Regions from separate parts of the Homo sapiens genome. Here region 1 is linked to region 2. Evidence: promoter capture Hi-C in human tissues and cell types (Jung and others, 2019). All regions are on one chromosome and are shown on one strand. Each heading gives the region's core, a stretch centred on a gene start or on the middle of the fragment in contact. The rest is flanking DNA. Distances are from core to core; before and after follow the strand shown. Region 1 overlaps CHAT (choline O-acetyltransferase). Region 2 holds the start of C10orf53 (chromosome 10 open reading frame 53).

What was found. Contacts are between HindIII fragments. The study calls those that stand out against the background at their distance.
Region 1: a fragment that was not itself captured here is called in contact with the fragment with the promoter of C10orf53 in region 2 in 2 of the 25 tissues and cell types used here (small bowel and stomach).

Annotation. Positions count from the first base shown.
Region 1 is chr10:49,641,500-49,646,329 of GRCh38, forward strand. All of the region lies in intron 7 of CHAT (choline O-acetyltransferase), which reads left to right. Among named protein-coding and RNA genes, the nearest start is that of CHAT, 30 kb to the left of the region's middle. The HindIII fragment of the contact is 6,718 bases long and covers 1-4,749 here.
Region 2 is chr10:49,677,237-49,682,042 of GRCh38, forward strand. It overlaps C10orf53 (chromosome 10 open reading frame 53), which reads left to right and starts at 2,415. Exons shown (of 3, transcript NM_001042427.3): 1 at 2,415-2,558. The coding sequence starts at 2,462. The HindIII fragment of the contact is 11,001 bases long and covers 1-4,806 here.

The DNA.
Region 1 (4,830 bases), core at 141-2,640, 37 kb before region 2:
TTCTGTTTTGCAAGAGTGAGAAATACTTTTGTTTGAATTCTCATAGTCTCTGAGGACTGACAGCATAAAGATCACCCCCTAGGCCAGAGAGTCGGGAAGAATATGAGATGTGCGATGGCAGATTTACCTCCCAAAAGAAAAAAGTACTCCTTCATCAGGGGAGGAAAGATGCTGAGATAGGATTGGGAAAGGTTAAGAAGGTCTAAGCCCCTGAGAAAGATCCCAGTTCATCCATCTCCTGGACTGTGAGAAGGGGGATGGGCATGGCATAGAAATCTGACTTGTGCTAACTTCTCAGGGAATAGATCAGAGCAAGCAAAGGCAAGTGTCCCAAAGAGGGTGGTATATGTCCGGGGGTACTTGTGCACAGTAGTGCACATTAAAGAACATCTCCTGAGTCTTGCAGCCCTGCACAGAGAGAGATACCAGGTGCTATTTTGTCTGTGCTCATCAGAGTCTCAGCCTGTAAGCTTCCAACCTCTAATGCCAGCCTCAGGGCTCCCCGAGGCCTCCTGGCCTCTGGAATTTCCACACTACCAAAGCTGTCAGCTCCCTCCTTGGGCATGGGTGTCAGAGCAGGCTCCTCCTATTACTCAATCCCCACCTCTCACTATTACGCCGGGCTCCTTGAGGAAGATTGATTCGCCACTTTAAAGGAGCCTCGATGTGCTCGATGAGGATGCCACAAGACAAATGGCTCCTGCCGTGCGCCTTCAGCCCGTTGTCCCATGTTTCCATTACATTTGGGCCACAGTCATGGTGGATGAGCTTGGGTGTAGTGCTCATTTTCTGCCTTACATGATAAACTTGTCAGCATTTGACTGATCAGCTACTTATATGCAGGGAGTTCATTTGCAAGGCCACCTGGCTCCCCGCTCTGTTGTCCTGCTCCCATTTTACCCTGTCTAATGAGCCAGGACCTGGTTCCTGTTGGGCAGCGCTGGGCTCCTGGGCCCTGCAGAGCCTGCACATGATGGCAAGGCCTCAGTGCCTCCTCACAATCTGCCTCCCCTGCCTGGAGGTGACAAGGGCAGTGATGCCCAGGGAGCCATTCTTTCCTGCTGCCAGCCTTGCATTGCCCAGTTAAAAAGGAGTGTGCCAGGCCTCCACTCTCCTGCCTCGAGCCTGCATCAAGGCCTGCTCTCAGCCTCCTGACTGAGCAGGCATGCTGTGGGCTGCCTCAGGAGCTGCAGTCTGCCCACTCCACACTGGCTTTGGGGCTGTTTTTAAGGATCGCTTAGTGAAGGCAGCTACTAAGCCAGGGCTCTCAGAGTTCACCCTGAGGTATGGCCAACAGGAATGAGGTGTACAGCATTCAAGCTGCCTATGGCCCCGGCTTGGCTGGCCTTCAGGCCCATGCCTTTCCCAAGCTGCCAGGTATCCTAGACTCTGCTCTGACCACACTGAGCTCTTCCATGATCCTTCAGCACTCCCTGTTGTTGCTGGCTGAAGTCACATGACTGAGCTGGGCATTCATAGCCCTTGTTGATGAACCTGAGCACTGGGGTTGGATGCCTGAGATCAAACCCAGCTCCCTCCACTTAGTGGATGATTATTATCATCCGTGTTTACAAGAGAAACCTTGTAAATGGCCTAAGGTCAAGATATTTGGTTTCTCTGGTCCTGACCTGTAAATGAGGCATGACAATGATACCTATCTTATATGCATCAATATGCATGTTTAGATTGATATTTGGCACATAGTAGGTGCTCAACAAAGGTTAGCTAATAGCATCACATCATTATGTTCTTCCAGCCCCACCTAAATCCTGCATGCCCTCACCCATAAGCTGGAGGTCAAGCCGATCACTCACAAGCTCTGCTTACAAGCCTGGGGATCTGTTCTCCGGCCATCCAAACCACTGTCCCACCCTCCATCCACCACCCTGCACTACTATACACCTCCTGGCATGCCTCTCCCTTCTTCTTTGCTGATCTGAACCTGACCCAGACCTGGCCAAGGCCTCCCCGGGGCTCTGAAGGCACTGGCTAGCCTGAGCCTGCAGGGACCAGTAGCACAGCACATAGTGCAGGGCGAGCACTATGGCCATCTGCAGGGATGCCTAAGGAGGGGAGAAGGGCAGAGCAGGGAGCCTTGCAAGGGGGAAGAAGCCCTACCTTGTCCCAGCCTCACCCTACCCCCACTCCCCCATCAATTCATGAAGCTCAAAGCCTCAAAAGTAGTTGGGTTTTGCCCTTCATAAGGACATGGCCTTTCCCCTTCCCATTAGCCAGCTGGACACCTCCAGGCCCCCTGTCTGAACTGGGTCCACAGATCCCAGCCCTACTTTGCCCAGGCCAAGGGAAGCACACTAAAGTCCATTACCCAGCATGGACTGTGCTTGCCTTGTTCAGGAGGCCCAGGCCCCACCCTCAGTGAGTGCTGATATGGGGGAGGGGACCAGACCAGGGGTCCAGGGGCTGCAAGTGCTGACTGTCCAAAGCACGGTGGTCTGGGAATGGCATTGGGGTCATGTGCTGTGCAGCAGGGGCTGGTGGTCAGGGATTGGGGGGCACCTCTGGGCTCAGGTGCTGTGTGAGGCTGGCCTGACAAGAGTGCAATTCCACATCTGCACTGAGCAAGCTGTGGAGGCCACGTGCTCAGGGTGTTAGGAGTCCTCCAGGGCAGGGCTGGTACTGCCAGAGGATGAGGGAGCTCAGGGAGGGCTGTCATAGACAGAGGAGGAGAAGGGCCTTGTCCTGGGCACAGCCTGCGTGATGATGAGGAGATGGGATGTCCACAGGATCAGGGAGGGGCAGGAGGTTGTCTGTGAGGTCCACGCAGGGATCTAGGGTGGGAAGGAGGTGGCCATGGAGCCCACGGTGCCATGTTTAGAAATTTGGATTCTCCCTTGTGGGCGGTAGAAGCTGTTTCAAGTTCTAAGAGGGTAATGTGGTGACTGCACCTCCTTAAGGAGCTTACAGGAAGGGGAGTTTCCCCAGGGCCTGGGCTGGCTCTCATTTATGCTTAGATCCTCAGGGCATGGCCGGATCCTTGATGCTGATCAGACTGAGGCAGGGAAGCCCAAGAGGCCATGCAGAGAGTGAGGAGGCATCCTGCCCTCATAGGGACGAGGAGGGGTTCTGAAAGCACAGGGCTCCCAAAGCCTCATCCTCAACAGGAGGGAAGAGAGGATGTCCCAAGGCTAGGCTGGCTTCCCAGAGTAGAAGGTCTGCTGTGGGAGACATCTCCTTCCCCAGGATTTGCAAAAAGTGAGGGAAAGGGGATGCATGGGGACTGGAGACTCCTTTCAGGCAAGGGCATCTGTGGACACTCCTTGTGAACCTGGAGAATTCACCTGGGCAGAGCGAAGACCAGTGCAGTTAGCATCTGTGTACACAGCAGGCATTGAGAAGACCTAGGGGATGGTCTTAAAGATTTACTAACCACCCTGGGAAGGGGAGCTGTCCACATGCCCAAGGAAGGCAAAACGCAGGCGAGAGCTCCCACCATTATATCTGTGATCCAGGCAGCAGGATGGAGGAAGGTGGGAAGCAGGACAAAGAGCACATGCTAGTTATCTTTGAGGAGGTTCCCCGGAAGCTGTGGTGTAGTTTTTTGAGATCTTGCTCATAGAATTTAGACACCTGGTTACCCCTAGCTGTAAGGGAGGCTGGGAAGTATAGCTCTAGTTTGTTATCCATGTACCAAGCTAAAAACCAGGGGTTCTACAAGCAAGGAAAGAAAGGACATGTGGTGTGCAACTAGGAGTCTCTACCATGTAATGAACCTTTCCCTGCAAATGCCATGCACCCATCTTCCCACACACAGAGCACTCTCACCCCTGCCCTGGGTGCCTCATCCTGTCCCAGCATCCAGCCCCCAAGGTCAGGCTCTCCTGGTGATACGCAGCCCTCACCATTGGGTCTTGAAGTGACTCCTTGGAATTTTAAACCAAAATGTTAAACTTTGGGTGGACTTTTTAACTTTTGGTGAACTTTAAACCAAGAGGCAGGCTGTGTACCCCCACACCCAGTACTGAGCAGTGGAGAGAACATCGTCAGCACAATAGACTCCTGTTTGGAAGAAATGGGAACACGCAGCGGGAGCAGGCCTGGCCCCCAACAGGTCCTGCCGGGTGGGCTTGGTGAACCTCCCTGTGCCCTGTGGAGGAAGCTGCCAGGGAGGGCAGCTTCTGGTGCTCTCTGGGAGGAACGCATGTGTCCTTGGTGAAATCACGTGCTCTGTGCCTGACTCCCGCTCCTGAAGAGCCGTCCTTGTCTGTACTCTTCCAGTGCCACCAGGGAGGGGGATTCCCTTTTGAGACCTGCTTACTCTAGAAGAATGTCTAGAGGAGCCTGGGAATTGGTAGAGGCTAACACAAAAGCCAGCTGTGGGCCAGGCTTGGAGCTCCTTTGGATCCATGAGTCCAAAACTGCCCCTACAAGCTCATCCAGATGTGGGTTCAAGGCAGCCTGGCCCTTCTGCCTGCAGCTCTGCCTCTGAACCAACAGCTTGGGGGCAGGGAGGTGACCAATACACTTCCTTCAGGTTTTAATGTGAAATTGCCTAATTTTGAAATTGCAACAACAATTTTGAAATTGCAGTTTAGATGTCTGAAAGTCATAGTTCAGCACAAACAAGCATGCCTACACACAGATGTGGCTCACAGGAGCCCCAGTGGAGGGTGCTGTTGGGTGGGGGATTAAGGGCCCTTCCACTGATGTGGGCTGACATGAGGGTCTAAGCATCCCGCTTCATCTTGGCATGCATGACCAATAGCCCACACATCTGGAGGAGAGCTGGTCACAGCTGGAGAGCAGGGCTCCTGCAGGGACCGTGCGAATGAGCTGGGATCCTGGGGTAGGACAGAGGCTCAGGACACTCTG
Region 2 (4,806 bases), core at 1,165-3,664:
GTACAAGAACTGGAGTCCGGCACCACCAAGGATGGGGAAACCCTGATAAGTCACCACCCTCCTTAAGTTAGGATCCCAAAGGACTGCACCACAGGAATTAGGATTAAATATAAATCAACCAATCTCCAAATGGACTGTAGCCCAGTTTTGAGTCATCTGGATGGCTCAGAAAAATCTCAAACTCTGAAACTGTATGAAGATGATCCTGGGTTGGTACAAGTAGGAGTTAACAAGAAGTAAATTTTAAAATCTTCTATAGGGGAAGATACTATCTTAGGCCTCAAATTGTTTCTACAAATACTTTTTTAATACAATGTCCAGCACACAATTAAAATAAACCAGAACTCTAGGAGACAAGATAAAATGCGTAGAAACCAGCGGAAATAATAAACCGCAGGACAAACACATGGGTTCTCCAAACAATGGAATTCTCAAACACAGTCTATAAAATACCTATCTTTACTACAATGAAGGAGATAAAGCCAAACCTAAAACACTTGGGAAGAAACTGAAAGTGGCACAGCAGATTTGAAAAGAGAACAAACTAAAATTCTAGAATTGAAAAATATATAACTGGAATAAACAATCAAATTCCTGGCTTTTCTTCTCAGTTAAGAGCCAAAAAGAAAATTCGTAGACTGGATTACAGGTAAAAATGAATGAATGCATGCATACAAACGTGTATACATACAACCCCAAAAGAAGTATGGAAGAAGAAAAAAGAGAAAAGCACAGAGAAGACACATGCAGATTACAATGAGAAGGTCTAACATATACCTAGCTGGAGTCCCTGAGAATGAGAAAATGGAACAAAAGCAATATGTGAAGAAATAATGACTCAAACTTTTCCAAAAACTGATGAAGGACTTTAATTCAGTTTCAAGAATCTCAACAAATCCCAAGAGAGGTAAAATATACAGTAGCATACGTTGAGAGAATTAGTGGGAAAGGGTTTTTTAAATCCTTTACTGTTACAGTAAAACTACAGAAAGCAAGAGATAAAGAAACATAAGCGGTCTTGAAAACAGAAGAGTAACGGAAAACAACTATTCATACAAAACTTTTAGCAAAGTTAAAACAACGTTAAATTTCTAATTAATAAAAACACTACAGTGAGTAGAGGATTTTTGCCTTTAAAGACGTGTACAAAGTTTATAGAGAACCAGAAAATAAGTCCTTCTAAGACAAGACAGGTAACCACATAGAGCCAAGAGGATGAATAATGACATCATGTACAGTCCTGCCTTCCTCCATAGTCTGCTGGGTTCAGCTGTGTTGGTGAATTCAGTGGTTCTTGTCCGATGGTGCGAAACTCAAGTGCTGGGGGAAATTATGTATGACCCATAATAATGTCAAAATTCTGCTGATATCATTCCTCTATTTAACAATCGTGTATAAACTAATTCTCATCAAAGAAATATGTATCATAGAACATACTGTACACGTGGAGAGAATTAAAATACACAGTAGCATACGTTGGGAGAATTAGTGGGAAAGGGTTTTTAAAATCCTTTACTGTTCAAAAGGAGGGTAAAAATATCAACTACAATTGAATATTTAGAAAGTAAAGAAATGCTGTAATCGCAAGGGTATTGCGATTGTTAGGTTGGGCTAATTTCTGTAATAAACAACCCCCAAAATCTCAGTGGTTATGGAATAAATGTTTCCTTCTGGCTTCGGTCACCAACTAATGCAGATGGGTGGGGCTCTATTCGGCGCAGCTACTCAGTGGTCCAGGTTCCTCCCACGTTTTGGGTCTGTCTCCCCGGGAGCCTCGGGTCCTCCCTGGGATCCCGTATCTGGCTACCGATAAGAAGAGGGAGACAGCAGGTGTGGAGGAGACTTTTTAGGAGCCATGCCTAGAAGTGGTGGATGTCTTTTATGTCCAAATTCCAATGAGCAGAACTGAGCAAATAAAAGGGAATTGGACGAATTCAGTTTTGGCTCCACCAAATAGCCTAACTGGTGACAGAAGGGGCCGGGGGAAGAAGGTGGGGGAAGAAGAATGATGAACGAATACTCCCAATCAATCAAAAAGAGGCAAGAAAATAGAAGAAATGCAAGGGTTTCCAATCCATACTACACCCCTGTCACTCTTGGGACCGCAACTTGCCCTCCCAGAGCCTCGGTTTTGTAAACAAAAAACATAAAATACTTCCTAGGGATGGTAAACTGATTCAACCAGATAACGCAGGGAAAATGCTTCGCACGCCGCCTGACACGAACTTACTGTGCCTGGCTGCTGCTGTTATTTATCACTAACACTTGCCACACCAGCTCAAACGCGCGTATTTGCGGACCAGGCGCTGAGGGTCACGTGAGCAGCTTGGGGCCGGGAGGATCCCCTAGCGCCACCCCGGCCCCGCCCGGCGCGTAGCGACGCCCACGCGCCCGGGCCGGAAGAGAGGTTGCTTAGCAGCGTGTGTTTCTCCCTTGCCTCTGCGGCGGCGGAGGCCTGGCGATGCCCAAGAACGCAGTGGTCATCCTGCGCTATGGGCCCTACAGCGCGGCAGGCCTACCGGTGGAGCACCACACCTTCCGCCTGCAGGGCCTGCAAGGTGGGCCTCCTCGCCGCGTGCGCCCCTGAGGGCCCCAGCCTCTGAGCATCCGTGCAGGTGGTGCCCTGTGCCTAGGCCTTCCTCAGACCCCCACGAAGCGCCACCTCTCCAGGAAGTCTTCCCCAGGATGATGTTGCAACCTATGGCTTCCAGGGCTGGGCTAAAAGAGTGGGAAGGCTCTTCTATCCAAGAGTGAGCTGTGGGCCCACCCAGTGCCCAGCAAATTACAGAAATTACCTCCATAGAAAAAATTACATAACCCTGCTTTAAGAATTGGGAAACTGAGGATCAAGAATATTAAGTGACTTTCACAACTCAAATGGCTGGGAAGTAGCGTTGCTGGTATTCCATCTCTTAATCGTTCATGCAGCAGACTTTTATTAAGCACGCAGTGTGTGTTGGACACCCTTCCAGGGACTGAGGACACACTGTTAAACAGTGATGAATGTCCTTGAAGTAATCTCCTTGTTAACTGCTAAATGACAGCTGTGCCTAAGCTCTGACTGAGGCTAGGTGGTGCCATGGGAGCTAACCACAGTGGGACCTGTGACTAGCCATAATGGGAGGGGAGAGGGAGAGGTCTGGAAAGGCTCATTTAAGTGGAGCCTTAAATGAGCCCACATTTAAGTAGACCTTTAAAGAATGAGTAGAAACTAACCAGGTAAAGAGAGGAATGCCTTCCAGGCAGAGGGACTAATAATATAGGCAATGGCTGGAGGCATTCAATAAATGATGTATTAATATTTGTTAAACTGATGGGGGATGAGGCTGGAGAGGTAATCAGGCCAGATCCTGCAGTGCCGCAGATAAGTTTTAGGCAGGGGATGAAGCTGTTGCTGCTCTGAGGAGAACAGATTAGAGGGGGCAAGAGTGGAAACAAGGAAGACAAGTCTGTTGGGGTGGTCCAGGGCTGAGATGAGAGTAGCTTGGACCATAAAGGAGACCATGGATCAAAGTGAAAGCAATGGTACTTCCTGAGAGGATGGAGGTGGGAGGTAAGGGTAAAAAGAATGTTATCCGGATCTAATCAGTGTCTGACTTGAAACAGTGCTGATGGATGGATGTACTGTCCACTAAAATCAAAGACACCAAAGATGGACCAAAATTTGGAGGAATATGTGGAATCGTTCCAAAGGAACAGTCTATTTTGGTCATACAGATAGTCCCCAACTTAGACTTCTTGACTTTAGCATGGGTTTATTGGGAGGTAACCCTATCCTAAGTTGAGGCACATCTGAACCTACAATGGTTCCACTTAACGATTTTTCCACTTTATGATGGGCTTATCCAGGTATTAAGCCCACTTTCCACTTACAGTGGGCTCATTGGGACCTAGCCCCATCATAAGTCAAGGAGCATCTGAATTAAGCTTCATGTGCTTTCGGCTACCTAGACAGAGGTGCTGAATCAGCTCTGTTGTTCTGGAGTTCAGAGAAAAAGTCTGAAATGGAGATAGAAAGATGTGAGTCATTGACTTGGAGAGAACATATAGAATGAGATGAGAGCCCAGGAATGACCATTGATGAACTCCCATCCTATGACCCAAACTAAGAGTCTTCCAGGCAAAATACCCTGAAGCCTAAGGACACAAAAATTAGTTTTAGCTGAGCAATCAGGGAAAGCCTCCTGGAAGAGATGGCATTTGAGTTTGAGTTTGAAGGATGGGTAGGATTTCAATCAGCAGAGGAAGTTACTTTCTGTGAGAGAACAGTTGATAGAGAAATTTCTGTTGCAAATACCTCCATGTTTGTATTTGTCTATTGGGATTGCCAAAACAAAATACCATAGACTATGGGACTTAAACAATAGAAATATATTTTTTCAGTCTAAAGGCTAAAAGTCCCTGATCAAGGTCTGGCAAGGTCAGCTTCTGGTGAGGGCTCTGGGCGCTCTTCCTGGCTTGCTGACAGCCACCTTCTCTTTTGTCCTCACCTGGTGGGATTATATGGGGAGAGCGGGGAGCAAGCTCACTGGTGTCTCTTCTTATAAGAAGAAAGACACTAATCCTATCAGATTGGGTCCTCATCCTTATAACCTCATTTAACCTTAATTACCTCTTTAAGCACCTGTAGTCACATTGGGAGTTAGGGCTTCCATATATGAAGTTGGGGGAAGGGGGGCAACAATTCAATTCCTAGCAGTGTTGCATGGTGATGTTTAAAATGTTTTGTAGTTTTGGCTAAGAAGACAGCCTAAATAAGTGACTTTTCTCTTCCTCCCCCTCTGATGAGCCACACCTACCCACCCT